Regions from separate parts of the Homo sapiens genome. Here all the other regions are linked to region 6. Evidence: promoter capture Hi-C in 16 types of primary human blood cells and fetal thymus (Javierre and others, 2016). All regions are on one chromosome and are shown on one strand. The core of a region is centred on a gene start or on the middle of the fragment in contact, and the rest is flanking DNA. Distances in the headings are between cores, read along the strand shown. Region 1 overlaps LOC105375546 (a long non-coding RNA gene). Region 2 has its middle 16 kb from the start of TAS2R39. Region 3 holds the start of GSTK1 (glutathione S-transferase kappa 1). Region 4 has its middle 5.9 kb from the start of TAS2R40. Region 5 has its middle 5.4 kb from the start of TAS2R39. Region 6 holds the start of OR9A2 (olfactory receptor family 9 subfamily A member 2).

The links. Contacts are between HindIII fragments. The CHiCAGO score rates a contact against its expected background, and 5 or more counts as called.
Region 1: a fragment that was not itself captured here is called in contact with the fragment with the promoter of OR9A2 in region 6 in 1 of 17 cell types (naive B cells); the score reaches 5.1 in naive B cells.
Region 2: a contact is called between a fragment that was not itself captured here and the fragment with the promoter of OR9A2 in region 6, in 2 of 17 cell types (total B cells and naive B cells). The highest score is 6.9, in total B cells.
Region 3: the fragment with the promoter of GSTK1 here is called in contact with the fragment with the promoter of OR9A2 in region 6 in 7 of 17 cell types (neutrophils, monocytes, erythroblasts and 4 more); the score reaches 10.7 in neutrophils.
Region 4: a fragment that was not itself captured here is called in contact with the fragment with the promoter of OR9A2 in region 6 in 5 of 17 cell types (total B cells, naive B cells, monocytes and 2 more); the score reaches 10.2 in total B cells.
Region 5: a contact is called between a fragment that was not itself captured here and the fragment with the promoter of OR9A2 in region 6, in 11 of 17 cell types (naive B cells, total B cells, M1 macrophages and 8 more). The highest score is 13.5, in naive B cells.

What each region holds. Positions count from the first base shown.
Region 1 is chr7:143,241,546-143,246,318 of GRCh38, forward strand. LOC105375546 (a long non-coding RNA gene) reads left to right here. Exons shown (of 3, transcript XR_007060569.1): 2 at 2,572-2,731. Among named protein-coding and RNA genes, the nearest start is that of GSTK1, 20 kb to the right of the region's middle. The HindIII fragment of the contact is 1,078 bases long and covers 2,749-3,826 here.
Region 2 is chr7:143,165,334-143,169,978 of GRCh38, forward strand. No RefSeq gene overlaps it. Among named protein-coding and RNA genes, the nearest start is that of TAS2R39, 16 kb to the right of the region's middle. The HindIII fragment of the contact is 1,069 bases long and covers 2,513-3,581 here.
Region 3 is chr7:143,261,851-143,266,627 of GRCh38, forward strand. It overlaps GSTK1 (glutathione S-transferase kappa 1), which reads left to right and starts at 1,591. Exons shown (of 8, transcript NM_015917.3): 1 at 1,591-1,735; 2 at 2,236-2,317; 3 at 2,698-2,826; 4 at 3,142-3,242; 5 at 3,411-3,446. The coding sequence starts at 1,664. All of the region lies in intron 2 of TMEM139-AS1 (TMEM139 antisense RNA 1), which reads right to left. It overlaps LOC105375546 (a long non-coding RNA gene), which reads left to right. Exons shown (of 3, transcript XR_007060569.1): 3 at 1,298-1,357. RefSeq lists a silencer at 1,409-1,478 and enhancers at 1,506-1,800, 1,619-1,838. The HindIII fragment of the contact is 19,965 bases long and covers 1-4,777 here.
Region 4 is chr7:143,225,626-143,230,313 of GRCh38, forward strand. No RefSeq gene overlaps it. Among named protein-coding and RNA genes, the nearest start is that of TAS2R40, 5.9 kb to the left of the region's middle. The HindIII fragment of the contact is 8,703 bases long and covers 1-4,688 here.
Region 5 is chr7:143,186,759-143,190,856 of GRCh38, forward strand. No RefSeq gene overlaps it. Among named protein-coding and RNA genes, the nearest start is that of TAS2R39, 5.4 kb to the left of the region's middle. The HindIII fragment of the contact is 2,520 bases long and covers 1,425-3,944 here.
Region 6 is chr7:143,024,522-143,028,743 of GRCh38, forward strand. It overlaps OR9A2 (olfactory receptor family 9 subfamily A member 2), which reads right to left and starts at 2,611. Exons shown (of 1, transcript NM_001001658.1): 1 at 1,679-2,611. The coding sequence starts at 2,611. The coding sequence ends at 1,679. The HindIII fragment of the contact is 3,416 bases long and covers 993-4,222 here.

The sequences.
Region 1 (4,773 bases), core at 2,038-4,537, 220 kb after region 6:
TTATTTATTAGATGGTATTAGATATGAGGCTTACTATTTGGAGAAAAGTAAAGCCGAATACCTTCCTTTTACTTCCTACACAGGTAAACCCAAGTGGATAAGAAATCTAAATGCAGAAGGTTAAGGTATAAATCTAATGGAAGAAAACATAGAATAACTTTGTGAGCAAAGGGTAAAGAATGGCTAATTAAACAAGGTCCTAAAAGCTCAAATCATAAGGCAAAAATTGATTGGACTTCCATTCAACGAAAGGCACAGGTGAGAGACAGATTGACAACATCTAAAATCTACAAGAAACCCCTAGCTGGACTATGCAAGGATAATTGGTGCACATACAAACACACAAACATGAATGGGCAGAGGAAACCCAAATAGTCAGCACATAGAAGAGGTGCTCATGCTTACTTGTAACCAGAAATATGTAAATTAAAAGCAACAACAGGGTACCATTTTGCAGGCATTAGAATAGCCACAAATTACCAAGTGTTGGAGAGGATGTGAAGAAAGGAAAACCCTGGTGCTACTGGCAGGAGTGTCAAATTGTACGTTTGAACGTGGAGAGCAATCCTTCAACACTTGGTGAAATAAAATATTCACATATCCTTTGACTCAGAGAACCACTCTTGAGTACACTCCCAAGAGAAATTCTAGCACAGGTTCATGAAAGGCTATAAATAAAGATGTTTCTTGCATCATTTTTGTGGAGGTAGCAAGTTGAAGGTGCCCTCATTAAGGAGAATGGACCAGTAAAGTGTGATGGGTGGCCAGGATAGAATATTATGCCGCAGTCAGAAGCAGTGAACTCGATGTGCCAACAGCGACATAGAGGGCGTGTCTAGAGTGAAAACTATGAGAAGCAGAGCTGTGTGGCCCAATGCCATTTATGTTTATGAAAAACATCTCACACACAAAATGACACTATACGTTGTAGGAAGTGATATTCACGTCCAAGGACCTCATCAACCGGAACAGCGCATGTGTCTGAAAGAGCCGTATGGTTTATGGAGCCTGACCAGTTGGGTTCAAATCCTGGCTCTCCCACACACTTACTCTGTCCGTTTGAGCAAGTCTCTTAACTTCTCTGTAACGTTTCTTTGTCTGAAAAAAATGGGAAATAGAAATAGTAAGACTCTATGGGGGTTACTGTGAGGAATAACTGAGTTAATATAAAGTGCTTAAACAATGCCTGGCAGTAAATGTTCACTGTTATTCCTATTATTATTGTCAATAATAATGTGAATGGGGAATCAAGAGTGAAGAGAAAAATTAGATTTTTTTAAAAAAAATGAAGGTGGGGGCCGGGCCTGGTGGCTCATGCCTGTAATCCCAGCACTTTGGGAGGCTCAGGCGGGCGGATCACCTGAGGTCAGGAGTTCGAGACCAGCCTGGCCAACATGGTGAAACCCTGTCTCTACTAAAAATACAAAAATTAGCTGGACATGGTGGCAGATGCCTGTAATCCCAGCTACTCAGGAGAGTAGAAGGCAGGAGAATTGCTTAAACCCGGGAGACAGAGGTTGCAGTGAGCTGCGATCACGCCATTGTACTCCAGCCTGGACGACAGAGTGAGACTCCATCCAAAAGCAAAAAAAAAAAAAAAAAACGAAGGAGGGACTTCGTGTACAATAGTGAGCTATAAATTAAAGTTGATGATTAACTCAAGTCTCTCCGAATCCGAGGTTAAAAACACACACATGCGTTTTCCTCCCTGCAGAAACAGAGCATGGTGGAGGATACTGATGACTTCAACGTAATATGGTAAGGTCCATGATAAGAGAAAACACAGATGGCATGAGAATATAAAAGTGGAACACTTAGCCTGGAAGCTCACAAAGGAATTAGGGAGAATAGGAGTCTTGGCAGGCAGTATGGTTTAGGGCTTAAGATTTGGAAGCTGGGTTAAGATCGCAGTTCTGCCTTTTACTAGTTTACATGATTTTTGGCAAGTTACATTCCCAGAATAATAGCACCTAGATAGAAAATATCCAGGCCCTAAGAATGTATTACCAGAACTCAAAGACCCCAGAGGAATCTTGCTGTCGCCTTAAGTATGCTTGAGTCTTTGCTCTAGGTAGTTCCTATCTCTTCAAGAACAATCCTTCCTGCATATCATCAATCATGTGTATGTTAACCTAAAAGCCCCACAGTGCCTCTCCTTACTAGTTTGCTCCGAACATGTTAGACAGTGGGCTGCCTCATTCTTTTGTAATCCTTGGCAAAGTGAAGATGCAGAGAGTGTTGTGATCACATCAAATCTTGAGAGCAGTAGTAGGTGATTGCTGTGGTGACCTTTAACATCAGAAAGAAGCAATTGCCAGCCAGAGGTGAAGGGTCCTCTGAGCAATTGGCTCGGGAGCTCCTGACAGGCAGCCCATGCATTGTCACTGACACGTGCTTTGTAGCCTACCAGCTGCTGTATTAAAAAGAAATCCACCAGCCACACAGACTAAGTCAGTAGCTAGAATGTTATTTTGAAGGTAGTTATTGGTCCAGGAAAGAGGACTTTGTCACTGGAGAGTTTAAAAATCTCATTTTCAAAACACTCCCTAGGTTTGTTCATGTTTCTCACAGAAAGGACGTGAAAATGAAAATACTTGAGTGGCCTGAGATTTGCCTAGGGAATCATCTTAGAAGCAAAGAAGGAAAAGAACATCACGGAAATTCCCGCAGGCATAATTCCATGGACAGAACTAGACAACGTATTCTCTAGCAGTTTTGAAACCAAGATCAGGTAAGGGAAAGAAGGCAAGCTTTATTTATTTATTATCTTTTTTTGAAACTGATGACAGTTTAAACAAAGGAAGTAGCCATCAAAGTTTAGTGTTAAGGTCACAGAGGTTCGTGGTGAATGGCATAAGTTCAATTCCTACTGCCACCATTCACAGGCTTTATGACACTGTAGAAGTTTCACCTTCAATAAAAGGGAAATGATGATGATAGTATCTACCTAAATAGCCACTTTGAAGAACAGTTTGTCCATTTCTTAAAAAGTTAAACATAGACTTACCATTAGACCTAGTAATTCCACTCCTAGGTATCTATCCAAAAGAACACACATGTCTATGCCAAGACTTGAATGCAAATATTTACAGCAGCACTATTCATAATGGACAACAACCTGAAACAATCCAAATGACCATCAACAATGTGTTACATCCATACAATGGAATACTATTCAGCAATAAAATGTTTAAAACTATAAATACATGCTACAGCATAGATGAACTTCAAGAACATTATGCTAAGTAGAAAAAAGTCAGATGCAAAAAAAAAAACTACGTATTGCATGATTCCATTTATATGAAATTTCCAGAAAGGACAAATCTATAAAGACAAAAAGAAGATCCGTGGTTTCTTAGGGGGTGGGAGTGGGATTGAGTGCAGGTTCTCAACCAGGATTGACTACAAAGTAGCAAGCACCAAAGAAAAAAAGAAAAGACTTTGAGATGATGAAAACATTCTAAGGCTGAATTGTAGTGATGGTTGCACAACTGTATAAATATACTAAAAACTATTGAATGGTACACTTACAATGGGTGATCTTTATGGCAAATATATCAAGTTGCTAAAAAATGGTACTTACCTTGTAGGGTTGTTAAAAGGATTAAATTAGTTAATATTTATAAAGTACTTAGAAGAGTGACTGATGTAGTAAGCTACATGTGTGTTTGCCAAACAATAAAAATAAATGTGGCTGTGTGATTCATCGCAAGAGTAAATTACTAACAGTTCCTGTATGTTTTTCTACACCAACAGGAAGCAATTCTGAGTACTTAGGCAATGAAATTACTTCTTTTCTATAAAATACGTTTTTAAGATCACACTAAGCTTGAGGTTATTCCAGGAGAGATTGTAAATCTTGTCACATGACTTTGCCTTGCCTCTACCTGCCGTAGCTCCAGCCTCATCTCTCACCATTGCCCTCCTTCAAATCCTTCAGCTAAAGAGAATTTCTCTCAGTTCCTCAAGACTCCAGACAATGGGCTTTTCCATAATGTTGCTGGCTCTGTATGGAATATCTATCTGCTCTTCCTCTCTGCTATTGGCTGAATGTGTGTGTCCCCACAAAACTCATAGGTTAGAATCCTAACCCCCAAGGTGATGGTATTAGGAAGTGGGGGCTTTGGAAAATGATTAGGTCATGAGGGTGGAGCCCTCATAAATCGGGTGGGTGGCCTTATGAAAGGGACCCAGAGAGTTCCCTGTCCTTTCTACCACATGAGGACACAGGGAGGAGATGGCCATTTGTGAGCCAGAAAGTGAGCCCTCATCAGACACCATATCTGCCAGCTCCTTGATCTTGGACTTCCCAGCCTCCAGACCTACCAGAAATAAATGTCTGCTGTTTATAAGCTATGCAGTCTATTGTATTCTATAATTGCAACCCTGACTACAGTGCTATCCACGGTCTACTTACTTCCTACCTACAGTTCAAGTCTTCATTTAGGGTTACTTCCTCTGAGAAGCATTCCCTGATTCTTTCTCAACATCCTTAACACTCCTTCCCTCAACACACACACACACACGCACACACAAAACACACTTTGTATTGAATTTGCCAATTGATGTTTTGCCTTTTGACTCCCACATCAGATGGAGTGCTTATAACCCCAAGCACTCAGAACAGTGCATGAGGCAGAGGAGACACTCAATAGACACCAGTGCAGGTTTGCAACCAGGGTGATTTTGATGCCACCAGGAAACACTTGGCAATTTTGTCACCTTAAAAGTTCCCTCATGCCAATGTTCAGTCAATCCCCACTCTCACTGCCA
Region 2 (4,645 bases), core at 1,797-4,296, 140 kb after region 6:
GGTTTTATCTACCTTTGGTCTTTGATGATGGTGACGTACAGATGGGGTTTTGGTGTGGATGTCCTTTCTGTTTGTTAGTTTTCCTTCTAACAGTCAGGACCCTCAGCTGCAGGTCTGTTGGAGTTTGCTGGAGGTCCACTCCAGACCCTGTTTGCCTGGGTATCAGCAGGGGAGGCTGCAGAACAGTGAATATTGCTGAACAGCAAATGTTGCTGTCTGATCGTTCCTCTGGAGTTTTCGTCTCAGAGGAGTACTTGGCCATGTGAGGTGTCGGTCTGCCCCTACTGGGGGGTGCCTCCCAGAAAGGCTACTCAGGGGTCAGGGACCCACTTGAGGAGGCAGTCTGTCCGTTCTCAGATCTCAAACTCCATGCTGGGAGAACCACTACTCTCTTCAAAGCTGTCAGACAGGGACATTTAAGTATGCAGAGGTTTCTGCTGCCTTTTGTTCGGTTGTGCCCTGCACCCAGAGGTGGAGTCTATAGAGGCAGGCAGGCCTCCTTGAGCTGCGGTGGGCTCCACCCAGTTCGAGCTTCCCAGCTGCTTTGTTTACCTACTCAAGACTCAGCAATGGCGGGCACCCCTCCCCCAGCCTTGCTGCCACCTTGCAGCTCAATCTCAGACTGCTGTGCTAGCAATGAGCGAGGTTCTGTGGGCGTGGGACCCTCCAAGCCAGGTGCGGGATATAATCTCCTGGTGTGCCATTTGCTAAGACCATAGGAAAAGTGTAGTATTAGGGTGAGAGTGACCCGATTTTCCAGGTGCCATCTGTCACAGCTTTGCTAGGCTATGAAAGGGAATTCCCTGACCCCTTGCACTTCCCAGGTGAGGCAATGCCTCGCCCTGCTTCACCTCACACTCAGTGTGCTGCACCCACTGTCCTGCACCCACTGTCTGAAAAGCCCCAGTGAGATGAACTCGGTACCTCAGTTGGAAATGCAGAAATCACCTGTCTTCTGCGTTGCTCATGCTGGGAGCTGTAGACTGGAGCTGTTCCTATTCAGTCATCTTGGAACCGCCCCCCTCTAATTAATCTTTTATTGTGTTTTCTATGATTCAAAATAGTCAAAATCCATTCCCAGGCATCTTCACCTCATTCCTGTTAATAAAATTTAGCCAGCACTTTGGTGAGTCATCTTTTCCTTTCCATTACAGGGATAGTCCTTCCTTTCTTTGGTCACACTGATACTTGGCCCTAGCGATTGTCTAAAATCAATGGGTTGAAAGACATGGGCAAATTTCAAGAACAAGGTAAAACATTATCTCAGATGAGGTCTATGCATGTTCTCCATGCAAAGAAAGTTTGCTCTTTTCTAGCAAACTTTAAAGATTCAGGGAACCTGGAGATTCAACGTTCTTATGTGCGTCTATCCAAATCTCCTAATCCCAATCCCTAGAATACATTTAGTTCTCACAAAGGTCCTAACTTTATCACAGGAATCTTTGCTAAGGCTGTGAATTCAATCCTTTTTAAATATGCCACCATTACTATGAAATCTTAGGCCTTAGTATCACTGATTTTCTGTAGGTGTACTGAAAATTGCAAGAGGTGAGAATTTTTTAAACTGCCTTGAAGACCTTCTGACTTTGAAACTATATTTTGAGTTGATCATTGACATATCTGACTCTGTCATTTCTTCTGGGTTTCTTTTTTTCTTTCTTTCATTTTTTTTTTTTTTTTTGAGACAGAGTCTCACTCTGTTGCCAGGCTGGAGTGCAGTGGCATGATCTTGGCTCACCGTAACCTCCGCCTCCCAGGTTTAAGCGATTCTCCTGCCTCAGCCTCCTGAGTAGCTGGGACTACAGGCATGTGCCACCACACCCCGCTGATTTTTGTATTTTTAGTAGAGATGGGGTTTTGCCATGTTGGCCAGGATGGTCTCAATCTCTTGATCTTGTGATCCGCCTGCCTCAGCCTCCCAAACTGCTGGGATTGCAGGTGTGAGCCACCGCACCTGGCCTTCTTCTGGGTTTCTATAACCAATCACAGCAGTCATCCAGTGCCCCAACCCTTATAATTATTCTTACTTATAATTATCCATGTTTTAATAAAACACTACAGATACCTCATTCCAACCTATCCAAAGTTAAGGTTTTTTTAGTTCAATATATCCCTGCTTGTCTATTTTTGTTTTTGTTGCTGTGCTTTTCTTGTCTTATCTAAGAAATTGTTGTTAATGCCTATATCAAGAAGTTTCTTCTCTGTGTTTTCTTCTAGGAGTTCTATAGTTTCATGTCTTATGTTTAAATCTTTAATGTATTTTAACCTACTTTGAGTTGATTTTTGTGTATGGTGTAAAATAATATTTCAGTTTTATTCTTTTGCCTATGAACATTCAATTTTCTCAACACAATGTGTTGAAGAGACTATCCTTTATCCATTATGTATTCTTGGTGCCCATGTCACAGATCAGTTGACCATACCTGAGTAGGTTTATGTCTGGGTTCTCTATCCTGTTACATTGGTCTATGTGTATATCTTTATGCCAATATCATGTAGTTTTAATTACTGAAGCTTTGTAATATATTTTGAAATCACGAAGTATGATACCTTCAGCTTTGTTCTTTCTCAAGATCACTTTGGCTGTTTGGGATCTTTTGTGTTTCCATATAAATTTTTAGATCATTTTCTCTATTTTTATTAAAAATGCCATTGGGGTTGAATGGGGATAGCTTGAATCCATATATTGCTTTGGATAGTATGGATATTTTAACAACACTAAGTCTTCCAATCCATGAACACAGGATGTTTTTCCATTTATTTGTGTCTTCTTTAGTTTTATTCATCAATGTTTTGGTGTGTGTGTATGTCCTTTACCTTCTTGGTTTGGTTTATTTCTATTTTATTGTCTTTGATGCTTTTGTAAACGGAATTGTTTTCTTAATTTCCTTTTCAGGTGGTTCATTGTTAGTATATAGAAACTCAACAAATTTTCATAGGTGAATTTTGTATCCTGTAACTTTAATGAATTTGTTTATTCATTCTAAGTTTTTTGGAAGTGTCTTTGGGATTTTCTACACACAGTATCATGTCATCTATGAGCAAAGATACTTTTACTTCTTCTTTTCTGATTTCATTTGAATGCCTTGTGATTTGATTTACATGCTTTGTATTTCTTTTTCTTGCCTAATTGACCTTGTTAGAACTTCCAGTACTGTATTAATCCATTTTCACATTGCTATAAAGACCTATCTGAGACTGGGTAATTTATGAAGAAAATAGGTTTAATTGACTCACTGTTCTGCAGACTTTACAGGAAGCATGACTTGGGGGATCTCAGGAAACTTACAATCATGGCAGAAGGTGAAGGGGAAGCAAGGACCTTCTTCACATGGTGGCAGGAGAGAGCTAGGAGAGAGCTACACACTTTTAAGCCATCAGATCTCGTGAGAACTCACTCACTATCAGGAGAACAGCAAGGGGGAAATCCCTACCCATGGTCCATTCACCTCGCACCAGGTCCCTCCTCTAATTCAACATTAGATTCAGGTGGGGACACAAATCCAAACCATATCAAGCACTATGTTGAATGGAAGTGATGAGAGGGGGCATCTTTATCTTGTTCCCGATCTTAGAGGAAAAGCTTTCTGTTTTTCACTGCTGCGTATAATACTAGCTGCAGGTTTGTCATACATGACCTTTATTATGTTGAGAAAAAATCCTCCTATACCCAGTTTGTTGAGAGTTTTTATCAAACTATAAATTTCTCGATAGCAAAGGAAATAGTCAACAGAACTGAAAGGCGACCTGTGGGATAGGAGAAAATAGTTGCAAATCATATGTCTGATAAGGGTTTAATATCCGAAAAATATAAGAAACCCCTACAACTCAATAGCAATAAGTAAGTAAATAAATAAATAAAAATTACAAAATGGGCCAGGTGCGGTGGCTCACTCCTGTAATCCCAGCACTTTGGGAGGCCGAGGAGGGTGGATCATGAGGTCAAGAGATTGAGACCATCCTGGCCAATATGGTGAAACCCTGTCTCTACTGAAGAAAAAAAAAAAGCAAAAAATTAGCTGGGAGTGGTGGCGGGCGCCTGTAGTACCACCTACTCAGGAGGCTGAGGCAGAAGAATCACTTGAACCCGGGAGGCAGAGGTTGCAGTGAGCCGAGATTGCGCCACTTCACTCCAGCCTGGCAACAGAGCAAGACTCCATCTAAAAATAAATAAATAAATAAATAAAAAATAGAGAAAAGAGTTGAATTGCTATTTCTCCAGAGAAGACATACAAATGCCTAACAGGCATATGAAAAGGTGTTTAACATAACTAATCATCAGGGAAATGCAAATCAAAACCACAATGAAATGTCATTTCACACCTGTTATAGTGGTTATGATTTTAAAAAAGGAAGATAAGTGCTGGGGAGGAGGAGGTGATATTGGAATGCTGTACACTGTTGTTGAGAAGGTAAAATGGTAAAGCTGCTATGAAAAACAGCACGATGCTTCCTTAAAATAAAAATAGAACCACTATATGATCCAGCAATCTCATTTCTGCATATGTATCCAAAAAAGTGAAATCAAAATCTTGAAGAGATACCAGCACTGCACTTCCATGTTCACTGCAGCATTATTCACAATAATTAGTTAGGATATAGAAACAACCAATGGACAAATGGGTAAAGAAATTATAATAAAACT
Region 3 (4,777 bases), core at 341-2,840, 240 kb after region 6:
TTTCACTCACTCAAAATATATGTATCGATGGTCAAATGTGTCCCAGACATTGTGCAAATCTCTGACAAAGGTAACACAAGAAAATGTGTACTCTGAGAACTTCTTATTCTGCCCCAGTTTAGGAGATTCATGCAACTGCCAAGCAACAATAATAAGAGCTAGCAGTTATTGGAGTACCTCATTCCTCACAACTCGTCATAAGGCAGGTGTTATCATTAGATATTCCCCATGTGTATGCAGGATGAGGAAATAGGTTCAGAGAGGTCAAGTGGCTCACCCAAGGGGCACAGCTAAGTGAAAGGCACTGCAGGCATCTCAAACTACCCCCTTCCCACAAGACTCCACTGCAGAGCAGGACAGTCACCCTGACACCAGCCCAATGGGTTCATCTTGCCCATTACCCAGATGGGGCTAATTTATCAAGACAAGGGAATTGCAATAGAGAAAGAGTTTAATACACATAGAGCCAGCTAAACAGGAGACCAGAGTTTTATTATTACTCAAATTAGCCTCCCAAAATTCGGAGGCAGAGGCTAGGGGACTTTGTGGGTTTTTTTGTTTTTGTTTTTGTTTTTCTTTTGAGAGGGAGTCTTGCTATGTCACCCAGGCTGGAGTGCAGTGGCATGATCTCGGCTCACTGCAACCTCTGCCTCCCGGATTCAAGCAATTCTCCTGACTCAGCCCCCCGAGTAACTGGGATTACAGGCACATGCCACCATGCCCGGCTAATTTTTGCATTTTTAGTAGAGACAGGGTTTCACCATGTGGGCCAGAGTGGTCTTGAACTCCTGACCTCAAGTGATCCACCCACCTCAGCCTCCCAAAGTGCTGGGATTACAGGCGTGAGCCACCATGCCCGCCGGCTAGAGTTTTTTAATGATAGTTTGATGGGCAAGGGGCTAGAGAATGGGTGCTGCTAATTGGTTGGGGATGCAATCACAGGGGTGTGGAAAACCGTCCTCAGTGCACCGAGTTGCATTTGGATGCGGGCCACAGAGGAGTCACTGGTCCAGGTGGAGTCATCCTGTCATTAGAAATGGAAAAGTCTGAGAAGGTATCTTCAAAGGCCAGTCTTAGGTTCTACAAAAGTGGTTATTTACAGGAATAATTGGGGAAGTTGCAGAGCTTGTGACCTCTGGAACAATGTCTGGTAATTGTTAATGCCTACATCTTAGCAGAATTCAGGCCCCTCTCATAATCCTAAACTTGTGGACTTTTATTAGTTTTATAAAACTGGTTTAGTTTGGGGAAGGGCTATTATCATTTAAACTATAAACTAAATTTCTCCCTATATTAGCTCGTCCCATGCTCAGGAATGACCAAGGGCAGTTTGGAGGTTAAAGGCACGATGGAGTTGGTGAGTTCAGATCTGTTTCACCTTCGTAATTTTCTCACTGTTAAAATTTTTGCAAAGGCGATTGCAGCGCCCCTTGTCCACACCTGCGCGCTCCCCAAGGGGTCCCTACCCACCCCGCCCCTGGCTGGGGGCCGTAGGCTGGCCCTGCCCCGCTGCGCCGGAGGTGGACCTCTACCAGGGCAGTTTCTCTCTGAGGCTGCGCGCTAAGGCGGTGGGCGGTCCCAGGCAGGCCCAGAAGCTGGGCAGCCTCTGCCGGGTTCCGGGAAAAGGAGCTCCTGCTGCCACTGCTCTTCCGGAGCCTGCAGCATGGGGCCCCTGCCGCGCACCGTGGAGCTCTTCTATGACGTGCTGTCCCCCTACTCCTGGCTGGGCTTCGAGGTGACGCTGGGAGGGGTCGCCTCGGCAGTGTCTGGGGAGTGAGGGCGGAGGGAAGAGTGAGCGCAGGGCTCCGGGACAGAGGTCTCGTGTAACTCCTGGCGCCGCCCAAGGGGTTAAGGCAAGCAGGGAGAGCTCCGGGGCTGAAGGTCACTTTGTGCTTTTAAACGGAATAGAGTCGCTGGCTCCAACCCGAGCCTTTATATCCCGACTGCAGTTTCCCACGGTGGTGGAAAGAGGGGCGGCTCCAAACATTCAGGGAGAAATGCAGAACACGGCCACCTCTTAGCCCAACGATGGCAGTTTTGGGGAAAACTGGCCACAGGAGCGAAGATCCTGGAATAGATTTCTAGTAGTGAGGAGAGTTTTGCCAATTTCAAACCAAACAATGTAGGGTGTCCGCATAACCCCTGCTCTGCACTTAGCGCCTCCCTTCCCTTTCCCTCGGCTCTTTCACTTTTCCATCTTGCACACTGGCAATCGTTCTTGACCTCTGCCCGCAGATCCTGTGCCGGTATCAGAATATCTGGAACATCAACCTGCAGTTGCGGCCCAGCCTCATAACAGGGATCATGAAAGACAGTGGTAGGAAGGGAGGGTCGGGGCAGGGGTGATCTCAGTGGCCCAAGAGAGCCGACCCCAGCGGGTCCTTATATTGGCACTGGCAGCCAGAAAGCTGCCCTCTGCCCCGTCTCTACTAAAAATACAAAATTAGCCGGGCGTGGTAGTGCATGCCTGTATACCACAGCTACTCGGGAGGCTGAGGCGGGAGAATCGCTTGAACCCAGGAGGCGGAGGTTGCGGTGAGCTGAGATCGCACCATTGCACTCCAGCCTGGGCAACAAGAGCGAAACAACAAGAGAAAAAAAAGGAAGCTGCCCTCTGCCCAAAACCCACGTCGAGGTCCCCAAACCTGGGACCCTTAGGTCTTTTCTCACTTAGCGTGCCCAACCTTCTCCTGGCAGGAAACAAGCCTCCAGGTCTGCTTCCCCGCAAAGGACTATACATGGCAAATGACTTAAAGCTCCTGAGACACCATCTCCAGATTCCCATCCACTTCCCCAAGGATTTCTTGTCTGTGATGCTTGAAAAAGGTGAAGAGAGTGGGATGTAGACAGGGTATCCAGTGAAAAACACAGAAGTCGGAGATTGAGGGATTGATAGGATGGAGGGGCTGCGGGAGACTAAAGCAAGTGAAGCCTGCCTTGGGAAACCTCAGGATCAGCCTTGAGCGAGCTGAAGGTTGCCGGGCATGAAAGGGAAGAAGAGCAGGCAAATAGGTCATGGGAACCTTGGGTGAGAGGCTGAGGGCGGAGGAGCTCTGGGGGATGTCAGAAGCAAGGAAGAGCTAGTCCTCCACCAGGAAAGCAGCAAGAGGAGCCCTGCCTCTGGGTGCCTCTGCCCCACAGGAAGTTTGTCTGCCATGCGTTTCCTCACCGCCGTGAACTTGGAGCATCCAGAGATGCTGGAGAAAGCGTCCCGGGAGCTGTGGATGCGCGTCTGGTCAAGGGTGAGTGTGGGGCTCTGGGAATCCTCTGGGAGGACCTTGGATGACTTTCTGACCTTCCCCAGGCACGTTTTCAGGGTCATGATCCTGCCCCCGCCCGGGGGATCTACTGTCCTCCCAGTCACACCCCTCTCCCCGCACCGCCTTCCTGCTGTCTTCTCTTCTTCCCAGAATGAAGACATCACCGAGCCGCAGAGCATCCTGGCGGTGAGTGTCCTGGCTCCACCCCAACTGCACTCATAGAGAATCTGAGAACAGTTGGCGTTTGGGGGTAAAGAAGACAATAGGTCTCTTATTGCATGGAAAAGGTTATAATTACTGGGGAAGAAAGGATGTCTGTGATTCAGGGCACAAACTACTGAAAAGTTGGAACTAAGGATCCTCAAAAGGATATCTCAAGGTTGAAAGGGGAAGTGCAAAAGGGACAATATATGGGAAGAATTTATTTGCTGAAAGATGTCAGTGAGAGAAAGATGCTCAGTGTTGGAACCCCTGGATGGGGAGGGATATAGTATTCACAAGTCTCCACAAACTCCAACACAAACCTCACCAACACATCCAGAGTGGAAGGCAGGAGACTTGTTCCAAGAGGCTTTAAAAAGACGAAAAGAGATAACTAATGCCAGGGTTATATAGGAGCCTGAGTGAGAACAAATGGAAATAGCTCAAAACATTGACCAGTGAGCCATGGATGGGGGTATAAAAGTAAGTTTGTCTTCAGGATTAAATTAGGAAATTCAAAACAGTATTATTCCTCTGGTTTACAAAAAAAAATAGTTGAGACCTATTCAAATTTAATATATAAAGTGGCAAATCACACAAAAGTTAAACGTATAAGGAATGGCAAATATATCTTCTACAGTCTATACTCCTGCAAAGTACATGTGTAATTTTTAGCTTGCTTTTTTACTTCATATTTAATCATTTTCCATGCTTTTTTTTTTTTTTTTTTTTTTTTTGAGACACGGTCTGGCTCTGTCGCCCAGGCTGGAGTGCAGTGGTGTGACCTCGACCCACTGTACCCTTTGCCTCCTGGACTCAAGCAATCTTCCCACCTCAGTCTCCTGAGTAGCTGGGACTACAGGCACACACTACCATGTCTGGCTAACTTTTTTATTTTTTGTAGAGAAGGGGTTTCACTGTGTTGCCCAGGCTGGTCTCAAACTCCTGTGCTCAAGAGATCTGTCTGCCTCCACCTCCCAAAGTGCTGTGTTTACAGGAATGAGCCACTGTGCCCAGCCTCCATGGAATTCTTAACTCTGAAAGTATAGTTCTTTGTTTCTATAGAGGTTCCACTGAGTGGACTTATTTTTGTTTTGCTTAACCATTTTTCTGTGGTTAAACATTTTGTGTAGGACATAATTCTCTAATTTAACCAAGTCAAAGATAGTGTCTCATTAGGACAGGCTACATGAATTCCTGGGTCCCACTTCTGATCTAGGAAGTCAAGTTGCAGTGGTTGTCAATCTTGGCTGTGAATTAAAATCACCTGGAGCACCTTGGCGCTAACCCTTTCCCCTGGAATTGTGATGTAATTG
Region 4 (4,688 bases), core at 1,744-4,243, 200 kb after region 6:
CTAACTAATTATGTCTTGTTGGAGACAGGGCAACTTGTGCATTAGGAAAGATCATGGAAGGAAAGAAAAAAAAGACACCGAGAGAGGAAGCCTTCCCATCTGTCTTACGTTTTCTCCCTCTCCTCTGGAGACAAGGAATATATATATAGTTTTCTTTTTTTTTTTTTTTTGAGACGGAGTCTCGCTCTGTCGCCCAGGCTGGAGTGCAGTGGTGCCATCTTGGCTCACTGCAACCTCCGACTCCCTGGTTTAAGCGATTCTCCTGCCTCAGCCTCCTGAGTAGCTGGGATTACAGGCATGTGCCACCACACCCAGCTAATTTTTTTATTTTTAGTAGAGATGGGGTTTCACCATGTTGGCCAAGATGGTCTTGATCTCCTGACCTTGTGATCTGCCCGCCTCAGCCTCCCAAAGTGCTGGGATTACAGGCATAAGCCACCGCACCCAGCCAAGAAAAATCTTTAGAAGAGAGGTAAGAGGAGGAAATTTCTTATGTACTCAGAAAGATTTGTTTGGGGGAGAAAGAGGAGGACAGAACGGCTAAAAAGCCAGTCTGTAATGTTTGAAGGCTGGGGGAACTCTCTGTACCCTTTTCTAAATGGGGGAAGCGTTGCCTAAAATAGGAGAGGCAAAACTTTCAGGGAAATGCTCAAATCAAGTGTATGCTGGGAAGAGGTAACATGTTACACTGCTACAAGTTTCTGTTGACAGGAGGAAGATGGAAGCATTTTGGAGCCTGTGACATGGCCCAGGAAGGGCAGGCCTGGGCGGAAAATGGGAGCAGACAGCAGAAAATGGGTGGTGTGAAGGGCTGGGGCAGTGGGAACCTAAAGGGGAAGATGTGGAGGTGTTGAGTGCTGAGTTAATCTTGGCCACTCTCAGTTGGGAGAAGCTCTTAACTGACAATTCTGCCTAGGCCTGTGGGGATTACCCTGTAAGCAGCAAAACAAAGTTTTCCAAGAGCTTTGAAGAGGAGCATTTCTGGGTTGGACTCTTCCCTCCCAGTGTGGTATTGCAAAGGTGCTCTGTGTCTGTGGCGCTAGCCCATCAAACAACGTCAGTAGGAAGAATACAGATTTGTAAAAAATTTTCCTGGTTTGTCTCTCATTTGGTTTTTCTTATTTTTTTTAGCAAAGTGTCTTATGAATGTTCTACCCTCTTTCAGTTGCATCAAGAAGAAAATAAGAGAAAAGTGGTTTTGAAGATAGCCCAAGAAAGAAAAGTACCAGCCACCCCCTAGGTTTAGTATGGCAGCAGTAGCAGGAGGGGATCCAAGGCAGGGTGGAGCATTAACAGAAAAACCTGCATCCCCTCAACTTCCACACCCCCGCCCGTGCAGTTCCCAGAGTCGTGAGACTGGGTTTGGGTCCTGGCTCTGCCACTTACTGGTGTGCAAATGGGCATGTTATTGCATCTCTCTGAACCTCAGTGTCCACATCTGTAAAATGGGAACAATAATGGGAAATACCAGCCTCCTAGGGTTATCTCATCCTAAGAGAAGAATGGGGTAAAGTGTTTAGCACACAGCATCTGACCCAGAGTAAGCCATCAATAGATGTTAGCTGTTAGTATTCCAAAGGGAAGTGGAGTGACACTGAGAGGCATCTAGAATGAGGATATTTAAAGCAGGCCAGATATGAAAAGGACAGACCAGACTGGGCCAGATGCACACAGAAGGCTTAGCCTTTATAGTCCCACAGGCTTGGTGGCAGAACATGGCCATGGATCCAGTAGTTCAGTCATCCAAGTGGCAGGTGAAAAGTGTAGGGTGGCCTTAAGAATTGGATTCCTGTTCACTTCCTGACAATGTCAGAAATGAAAGACATCTAGTATTCCACAGTTTAGCTGCCCGACAGTTATCTGAGTGTAGATTTGAACCTAACAGGCACTAGGTTAGGGGTCAGCAAACTTTTTCTGTAAAGGACCAGAGAGTAAATATTTTAGGATTTGTGGGCCACATGCAGTCCCTTCCAGAAGAATTCAACTCTTCTGTTGCAGCACAAAAGCCACCATGGTGATTCAAAAAATAAATAAATGGACATGGGTGTGCTCCAGCAAAATTTTGTTTATGGACACTGACATTTGAATATCATATAATTTTCACGTGTCATGAAATATTATTCTTCTTTTAATGTTTTCAACCATTAAAAATGCATTTTTAATAAATGCCTCTTGCATTTTTAAATGGTTAAAAAATTAATATTTCATGATGTGACATTTTGTTGGAGCACAGCCATGTCCATTCTTTCCCAGCTGTGCACTCTTGGAGGGTGAAATTTTTGCTTAGTTGATCTCGTGGGCCATACAAAACAAAAAGAATCAGTGGGTCAGATTTGCCCCCAGGCTGCAGTTGCAGACCCTTCACTCAGGCATGTTCTCCTACCCCTGAAGGCACAGCATTCCCCAGGACCCAGTCACACTTCATTGCAAAACCAGGGATACTTATTGTGGCAACTTTTGCCATGTTATTTTTTCTTTCTTTTTTTTTTTTTATTATACCTTAAGTTCTGGAATACATGTGCAGAATGTGCAGGTTTGTTACATGGGTATACATGTGCCATGGTGGTTTGCTGCACCCATCAACACATCGTCTACATTAGGTATTTCTCCTTATGCTATCCCTCCACCAGCCCCCCACCCCGCAACAGGCCCCAGTGTGTGATGTTCTCCTCCCTGTGTCCATGTGTTCTCACTGTTCAACTTCCACTTATGAGTGAGAACATGCGGTGTTTGGTTTTCCGTTCCTGTGTTAGTTTGCTGAGAATGATGGTTTCCAGCTTCATCCATGTCCCTGCAAAGGACATGAACTCATCCTTTTTTATGAATTTTTGCCATGTTTTGAACGTGGCAACTTCCCCAATATTTTTGCCACTTTCAATTTCTCCAGCTTTTCTCTGTCCCTGTGCAATCTTTAAAATAGAGTCCACTAGCTCTTTGTAAAAAAATAAAATAAAAAAATAAACAGAAAGCTAATGTTCTAGTCCCCTGTCTCCCACCTGCTAAGGATAGACACGGAGCCCAAATTTTGTTTCTCCTTAAGGCTTTGAAAGCTATTGCCCTGAAGCTACTCACTTGATAACAATGAGTTTGAAATAGTCATGCCTCTACAAACCATCTCTGTTGAGGTTGAACACTAGGCTTTCTGAGTGCTTTCTCCTTGTGAATTTGATCCAGCAGGGCAATGTTTGTATTTTTGTGTTCTTTTAGATGACTAAGCAACAGGCTGGTTTATTGAATAATGATGGGAAATGTGGTGTATAGAAAGAATCTACATTCGGTGTCAAAGATCTAGACTTCAGTCTCCATTCTGTGTGATCTTGGGAAAGTCACTAAACCTTTCTGAGCCTCAGTCTCCCCATCTGGAAAGCAGAAATAATCATAACATCCGCTACACATGGTTGCTATGAGACTCAAATAAAATATGTCTATAATAAATTGTAAACCACGATATGAAGATAAGTGCATTCATTCATTCAACAAAAATGTATTTCTTAATGCATTTTTAGTAAATAAAGATCAACTCAACAAAAATTTTACCCTCCAAGAGTACACAGGCTAGAAAAGAATACTGGATTAAATTATAATGTGAAAAATTCCTGAGTAGTCATCTATGTACTGTGGAGTCAGGAATGTACCCTAAACCTCAAATGTGCACAATTAAAACGCCTATCCTCTAAAAACAATTTTTTAATCCTGATCTTCTTTCCCTAGTTCCTTCACCGTGGGGAGCAGATAACTCAGGACAAAATCCTTTTCTCTCGGTCTTACTGAGCCATTTAGGAGAAATCAGGGCTGAGAGAAAAAGAAATTTTCCACTGAGCTTCCTCAGAGATTCCCATCAGAGCCTGAGGATGGAAAACAGAGAAGGGTCCCATTACATCTAGCCCTCCCGAGGGAAAGCTGCTGTTTGCATTTCCTGCCTACAGCTCTCGGGACTGCAAATAAATCAGTGGTTTATTCAAACCAGTAGCTGGAGAGTAGATTATGGCTGGCGGCCCTGAGTGCAGCTGAGACCATGAGTGATGGAAATGCTTGGCAGGGAGGGAGTGGCAATGTGACCTGCGGAAAACACCAAGACCCCATAGGCCCGTTCTTCCCTCATCTCACTGCTCAGTGGAATAGCACCTGACACTCACACTCTACTCATAAGAGTTAACTAAGATTTGTTAAGATTTATGTGAGATTTATCTTAACATAATAAAAATTAAATATCTCCAAATACTACAAGAAATGGTCTTAACCTCTTTGTTATCTAATCAAATTGTTAAGTGATTCAAACACCTTTGCCTAATATTTTATCTTTCATGAGTTATTTCACTAAGTTTTGTGTCTATATTCTAATTTACGTTTTTGGCACTGATGGCATTAATTGTACCCAATGGCAGAATTTTTTTTTGAAGGCTAAATAACTAAAAAACATGCCTAGTAAGTCCTGATCTGAATAAGTTAATAATATTTTAAAAAGTCAAACCTGTGGCCTGAGTCTCCATTGCCTCTGATCCCCTTAAGGGTGGGGCACTGTTGGCCACTCTCTCTGTTTTAAAGATCTTCACCCTTGACTTCCATATCTATTCAGCTGCCTGAGTTTTCTTCTATTTCCTTATCCACCAAGTACCCTTCAAACATACAACTACTCACAATTTGTACCCTTTATCTATTGCCACCACTAAGGTGACCAACCACTCAGA
Region 5 (4,098 bases), core at 1,435-3,934, 160 kb after region 6:
CATGCAACTCATCAGTAAGTCCCATGTTTCTGTCCTGTGACGTGTATAAGTAGAGGATCATTCAGTTATTAGTTGAACAAGTATTGGCTGAACACCAACTATATGGCATATTCTATTCCAGTTGCTATGTATACAATGAACAGGGCTCTTGTCATCATGGATCTTCTAGTCTAGTGGGAAAGCATTGGTAATAAAACCTAGAATGAATAGCACATCATGGTGGTGGTGTTAGATCAGCCCAGTCAGGAAAGGCCTAAATGAGTAAATAAGATATAAAGAGGTAATTGTTAAAAATATAAATCTAGGCCAGGCGCCGTGGCTCACGCCTGTAATCCCAGCACTTTGGGAGGCTGAGGCGGGTGGATCACGAGGTCAGGGGTTCGAGACCAGCCTGGCCAACATGGTGAAACCCTGTCTCTACTAAAAATACAAAAATTAGCCAGGCGTGGTGGTGGGTGCCTGTAATCCCAGCTACTCAGGAGGCTGAGGCAGGAGAATCGCTTGAAACCAGAAGGCAGAGGTTGCAGTGAGCGAAGATCACACCACTACACTCCAGCCTAGGCAAAAGAGCAAAACTCCATCTCAGAAAAAAAAAAAAAAAAATATATATATATATATATATATATATATATATATATATATATATATATATATAAATCTAGATAGAGGAATAAGTTCTAGAGTAGCACTGTAGGGTGACTTATAGTTAACAATAATTTACTGTGTATTTTCAAATTGCTAGAAGAGAGGATTTTGAATGTTTCCAACACAAAGAAATGTTTGAAGTGATAGATATGCAGATTACTCAGATTTGATCATCCCACATGGTATACATGTACCCAAATATCACTGGGTCCTATTAATATGTACAATTACTACATGTTAACTAAAAATAAAACAAAATTATAAAAATAAAAAATTATAAATATAAACCAAACATTTAGGATAATTACGAAATAAATCTAAGGAAATCAGAACATATTAAATATTGATTTGATAAATAAAATATAAAAAAGTTAAAACGGATACAAAACTGGTTCATTGAAAAGAGGCAGTAAAATTGGCATCATTAGCTTACATAATCAAGAAAGAAAAAAGGCATAAATACACAAAATAAGACATGAAAGAAAAATAACTACAAATCAGAGAAATTGCAGTACTTTTAAGAAACTATTTTGTTTAACTCTATGCTAGAGTTTGAAAACGTAGATAAGATAGATGTTCCTAGAAAAATATAATTTACTAAAATTGACTTCAAGAAAATCTAAGCAGAATAATCATCACAGTTGAGCTAGAGAAAGTTGTGAAGAGCCACTCCTCAAATAATGCTGGCACCAGATGTTCACAAGGGAATTCTATCAACTTTTTAAAAGCAAATAATATGAAGTCTATGTAAATTGTTTCACAGCACAAAAGTTAAAGGAAGCTTCCAAATTTGTTTTGTGAAATAAATATAATTTAGATATCAAAACCTAACAAAAATTGTCTCCCAGAAAACTACAAATAAACCTCACCTCACTTATCAGTGTTTATACAAAAATACTAAATAAGATTTAGTATTAAATTTAAATCTAGAATACAGGTTTATTTCATAAAAGTAAAGATGGTTTAATATTAGAAAACATATCAATATAATTAACCATATTAATAATACTAAAGAGACAAATCATATAATAATGTTAAGTGCTGAAAAATAAAATTCAAGAACCATTCCTAATTATTAAAAAATCTTACAATAAAAATAGATGATTTCCTAACATGATAAAATATATCTATCTCTTAATAGCTAGCAAGCATCATTCTTTTTTTTTTTTTTAGACGGAGTCTCACTCTGTTGTCCAGGCTGGAGTGCAGTGCGATGGCACAGTCTTGGCTCACTGCAAACCTCTGTCTCCCAGGTTCAAGCAATTCTCCTGCCTCAGCCTCCCAAGTGGCTGGGATTACAGACATGAACCACCGTGCCTGGCTAATTTAACAGCTAGCATCATTCTTAATGAGAAAACATTATTATTTCCATTAAATTCAGGTAAAAAGACAAAGATGTTTACCCTCACCCTATTAACTGATGTTAACCCTAGATAAGTATCCAGTACAACTAGAAGAAGTGAAATTAATTTAAAGGATTTTAAAAAATTGGAAGTTTCCTGGTGGAGTATCTTATCTGCAGATGGTTATATAAATAAAAAACCCAAGAGAAGCAACTAAAATATTATTCTAAATAACAAAAGCATGAAATATGGAAGGAAAAAAATAAACAGCAACAAAAAATAAGATACTAGAGCAATAAAGTTAACAAAAAATGAGCACGACTGAAACAGGAAATTTTCCCTGACCCCTTCATAGGCCTCACAAAGGGAGTTGCTCGTTTATTCAGCCTGCAGCTCTCAAATCCTTTGTAGGAGGGGAGGCATGCAGGTGAGTGGGTGCAGGGACCAGGAGGAGTTCTGGATGCCGGCAGGAGCAGAACTCCTTGCGGCCCCACAGCAGCATCCAGCGGGGTACCCATGACCCCTGGAGCCCCAGAGGGCATGTGTTACTGTGCTCTTATAGCTTTGCTATCCATGTACGGCTTTAGTGTTTAACAGCTCAGTGTGATAGCCCTCTGTATCTCAAGCTCTTGTTGGGCATCCAGGAAGAATCAGGTCGCAGGAACAAACTGAACATGGTAAATGCAGGGGATTTTATTGCTGATAAAAGTGGTTCTCAGTGGGATGAAGGGCTTGGAAGTGGATAGAGCAGGAAGGGGGTCTTCCTCTGGAGTTAGGCCATCTCTTCTCCAAGGTCCAGCTATCAAGCCGACCCTCTGAAGTCAAGCTGCTTCTTGCCAATGTTAAGCTGCTTTTTCTCTTCTCTCCTCTGATGCTCTGCTGCTAGTGGAGCCTGGGGTTTTTATGGGCACAGGATGTGGGGGGCGGGGGTGGAGCAGGCCAGGGTAATTTGGAAGAGGCAACATTTAAGCGGGAAAACAGAAATGCATGTTCTCACTTTGGGCTGTGAGTCCAGGCTTGAGGGTGGGGCTTCAAGAAGGACCCGCCCTTTTCTACCTAATATTTCGCTGCCTCCTGTCCATATCACAATCTATATGAAGACTACTTTTAAATGCTTCAGATATACACACAGAAGACTTGAACAGGAGAAAGGCTACCATGCTATTGAGTGGAAAATGTCAATGTCATCAGATACAACATTTCCCTAAATGAATCTACATTTACTGTAATTTGACACAAATGCCAAAAATTTTTTAGACAGATAATAAACATAATCTGGAAAAAATGAAGCAAGAATGGCCAGAAACATTCTGAAAATGAAAAAGTAATGAGGGAGGACTAACCCCATGAAATAACACACATGTTATGAAGCTGAAAAACACAAAATAGTGTGACAGTGGAAATCAATACTCAATAAAACAGAGTAGACATCCAGAAAAATGAGAATTTAGTATATGGTAAAAGTGGTATTAGTAAAGGAATAATGGATTATTCAATAAATTATGTTAGAACAACTAGCTAGCAAAGTGGAAAAAAATTTTGGATGTCTCTCTCACATCTTATACTAGGCCAAATAAATCAAATAATTCATGTTTTTATTTAAAAAAGGAACTATTAAATATTAGAAGAAATTTTGGAGATTTCAAAGTTAATTTTAGAGTTGAGAAGACCCTTCTAACCATGATAAGTGAAAAAACAAGCATAAAATGATTTATTTAATCTGGTTACATAAAGTAAAAAGATACTACATGGCAAAAACTACCTAAGCAAAGTCAAAGACAAACAAGAAACTGGGAAATAATATTTGCCACTCACATTCCAGATAAAGATTAATTTTCTGAATATATTAAGAGCTCATACAAATCAATAAGAACAATTACTGAAGTTAAAAATTGGCAAAGGATATGAACTGATAGTTAGAGAAAATGAAATAAAGGTGGCTTTTAAGAAATTAAAAGCTTATAAAATGTGAAAAGGTATTTAAAAATTAAAATTAAAAATCATCCATTATCCTTCAACCCAGAGACAACTTTTAAAGCGTGTGTGTCTGTGTGTGTGTGTGTGTGTGTGTGTGTGTGTGTGTAGTTTAACAAAACTGGGTTCATACTAA
Region 6 (4,222 bases), core at 1,361-3,860:
ATGACTATACTAGAACCTAATTATAGACATCTACTATCTAATTATTTGGATCTTATATCTTATATTTCTACCAGAAGTTGGTTTTTTAAAAACCCTATTCGCCAGCATTCAGATCAATACTTAGTATTCTCAGAGTTTTATGTTTTTCCAATCTGATGGATGTGATACAGTGGATGGCTAAGTAAACTTTGGCAAGTTATTTAAATTCTCTGAGCTTCTATTGTCTCATCTCTTAAAGGATACTTCTCTGGATTAATGAATTAGAAAAAAGGTATTCTTTCTGGTCAGAACAGATCCTCATTTACTGGGCTTGGAAACCATGGGCACCTTTGTTTAAGCAAAAGTCTCCCCTTTCTCCAGCCAATGCAGTGCCACCAGAGTCCATTGGTTGGCTTGCAGAGCATGGGCTGGCTGAATTTAAAGCTCATTCCCCACCTTGTCTGGTACTTTAATGCAATGCAAACTACCCAAACATACATGACGGTTATCACTCCTCACAGGACAAGACAACCTGGCATCCTCACACAGTACTCTTCAAAATTCTCAGTAGCCTCATCATCCCACTGCTGAACAGCTCAATTTTCTCACTTACTTTAGGGCTGGTAGAATCTGCTGATTGTTGTTGTTTAGGTAAACTTCTTCCTTATAAGGACTTCTTCCAATATTATGTGAAATTCCAACAGTTACACTACCAAACAGCCAATCCCTATAATTTCTAGAAAGCCGGGAGTCAAAAGAATGGCCTCTTATTTTTAAAAAATTCTGCCCACAGAGAAGATACACATGATGGTACTGAGACTGTTGGATTTGAGAGACGGAGAATCAAAAGACATTATAAAGTTTGAAGTCTAGATCTGGATACAGTCTGAACAGACATAGTTGTGTTTAACAGCCATAAAATACAGGATGCTCTCTAGAATTAGTCATTTAGTTCTTATTTGCCCCTGTCCCTATACTCACCACAAAGAAGGGCAGTGAAAGGAATATGCTGAAGCTTAACAAAAATAAATTTTCCTCCATTTTTATCCTCAAATATTTTTATCTTCTTTACACCACAAATATCTCCTGAATGAGAAGCATTCCAATCCTCATATCGCCATTCTAGACTGGTTCTGTGACAAAACGTAAACAGTGTTACACTTCCTTTCCAGTATCAATGGGGCAGAGAGAAAGAGCTTTAGGATATCTAAAATGCATATGGCCATCTTGCCAAAAAATTGCACAAAAATATAGGGAAGAACTTAGCAACAGGTGATGAAGGACCAAAGTGAGCATCTCTACCTTTCTACTCTGATTAGGACACCTTTCTCAGTACACCTCCCTCCACACTTCCTCCCTTCCCCAGAAAATACATTTTCAGAGATGGACTATGAGGAAATGAGTTGGGCTAATAGAATTCTTACAAAAATGTCTGCATTTCCTTTCTCTAGTCCCCCCCAAATCACAAGAATATGTTCAACAGTGGAAACAGGCAGGAACTAAGGCTATGAGAGTCTCCTGGACAGACAATGGATTTCATTATTACCAGCCTAATCTACTTCCATGGTGTGATGGCGAATTGTACACACTCTTTGACTTTTGTAATGAGAGGATAAGAGAAAAGAGGAGTTAGAATTTTCTAGGTGACTTAATAATTAACCCTGAGGCTTGGACCACCTAAAACTGACTTACAGAACAGCTAATCTTTCAGGAGTTGACAGCAGCGTTTCATCCCATCTCGGAGGGCCTCTTTGACTTTGTCATTCCGAAGAGTAAAGATGAAAGGATTCAGGAAGGGGGTTAACACAGAAACCAACAGGGAAACTATCTTATTGTACTCAACTCCCTGTGTTTGCTTGGGTTTCACGTAGAGAAACAAGCAGCTGCCATAGCCAATCACAACACAGGTGAAGTGGGAGGCAAAAGTGGAGAAGGCTTTCCTCCGGCCAGAGGCTGACGGGATCTTGAGGATGGTGGAGATAATGTAGGTGTAGGAGACAATCGTAGGGATCAAAGAACCAATGAGAATAAAAACAGCCATTAAGAAAAGGATAAACTCTGTGAGAAGAGTGTTATCGCAGGACAGTTTGAGCAATTGCCCTCGGTCACAGTAAAAATGGTCTAATGAATTTGATTTGCGGAAGGTAAACTGAAATGTGGCATAGATGGGCCAGATTTCAGAAAGAAATCCAAACACCCATGACACTATTACCACCCAAATACAGGTACTGCTGTTCATAATGATGTTGTACCTCAAAGGGTTACACACAGCCACATAACGGTCCACAGCCATCACTCCAAGTAATGCAAACTCCATGGTCCCACAGGAAAAGTTGAGCGATACATGTAGAGAAAGATACTGTCTGCATCCCAGGAAGAGCAATCCCCAAAGCATCATGGGGACAATTATGGTTGTGACCAGGATCTCCAGGGTAGAGAGGTGGCTGAGGAAGAAATACATGGGGGACTGCAGACGTTTATCCACACAGACAATCACAATGATGACCGTGTTTCCCATTAATGTCACTAAATAGAAGAAAAAGAATATAGCAAAAAGAATGTGGTGTAGTCCTTGGGACCCAGGGAAGCCTAGAAGGTGGAATTCAGTGGCACTAGAGTGGTTGTCCATCATTTAGTCCTTGATTCTGCTTGTTTTGAAGCCCAGAGATTAAAAGAGAGGTGGCATTGCTCCACATGGTCCTGCTCTCAAGAGAGAAGGAAGAAAAATTAGGTTAAGAAACTATTTCCAACCTGAGAATCAGGTGACATGTCCCTGCTACTGTGGTCGGCACATACATAGCTTGAGGTACATGTTGTCATCCCAAGTCTACAAGTGAGGCTCTCACTTCCCTGTGTAACCAGCCCCCTAGAATGGGTGAAGACATCTTCTTCTACTGGTGGTGAAATACCTTCCTTGCCTTTTTCCCCATTAAATATACCTTCTCTCGGGGGCAGAGGCTAAGACCTTTTAAATAGGCCAGTTTTAAAGGTGAGTCAATCAGGTCCCTCCGGTCCTGGAGTTACTTTCTCTTAGGTTAACTGTGCAAGATGACACAAAGGCATTTTATATGATGTTCAAAGGACAGAATTTTAAACCCCAGCTCTCATCTGTAATGGTAATGCATAGACCCACCTTTGGGGCCAGCAGAAAGGAGGCAGAGGATGTAAGACTAACATCTCTGCTGTTCCAGATTTTAAAATCTCCATTTTACAGAACAGCAAGATCTCTAAATGAGAACTCTAGAGCTTGGGATAATTTCCCAGAACAGATCCATTCTTCTCTAATTCCATTTTCCTTCCAAAGTTGTGGGAGGAAGGAAAGATGGCACCTGGCACAGAAAAGGAATAGATCTGGGACCGCCAGCTGTTAAGGATGCCTGGCTCTCTGCCTGTCGCTTCATTCCATTATTCAAATGTCACCCTTTCCAAAGACTCTTTCCAATCACTCTGCCCAAAACAGAAAAGACACACTTATTATTGGACTTCCATTTTTTTAATAACAGTTGTTATTACCTTGTATTATGTCTAATTATTTACTTCATTCCTTTATTTAACAATAAACAAATGTAGTCATGAACAGAACAAAGAAAATTCCATGCCCTGTGGAGCTTATATTCAAGGAAGAGGTGGGGGCTAGACCACACACAAGACACCTAAGTAAAATATGCAATAGTTTAGTTTGCTTATCATGTCACAGGGAAAAAAATAAGCAAGAAAGAAGGAGAGGAAATTTAAGTGTATTTATTATTTATCAACGGCATTAGAATATAAACTCCATGAGGGCTAGGACATGTCTTCACTGTTGTATTCTGAGGCTGGCACATAAAATGTACATACATAAATTAAGTAGTTATATATTTTATATATATATATCATATATCTTTTATATAGATATAGACAGATACATTATGTGAAATGAATATATCATAGATATATCTTATATATTAAATTATGTATTAATTTATCACAAGGTAACCGAACTAATAGCTGTGTGAGTCAAGATTTGAACCTAGGTCTGTCAGATTTCATCACTCACACAGCTAACTACCACACCTTATATTATATTATTATCTTATATTATTTATCTTATTTATATAAGATATATGAAATAAGATATATGAAATATATCTTATATTATATAAAATATACATATATTTTTTATTTATAAGATATTTAAATACATAAGATATATGTATCATATACATAAAATAAGTAGTGCTGACAAATTTTGCTAGATGAGGTA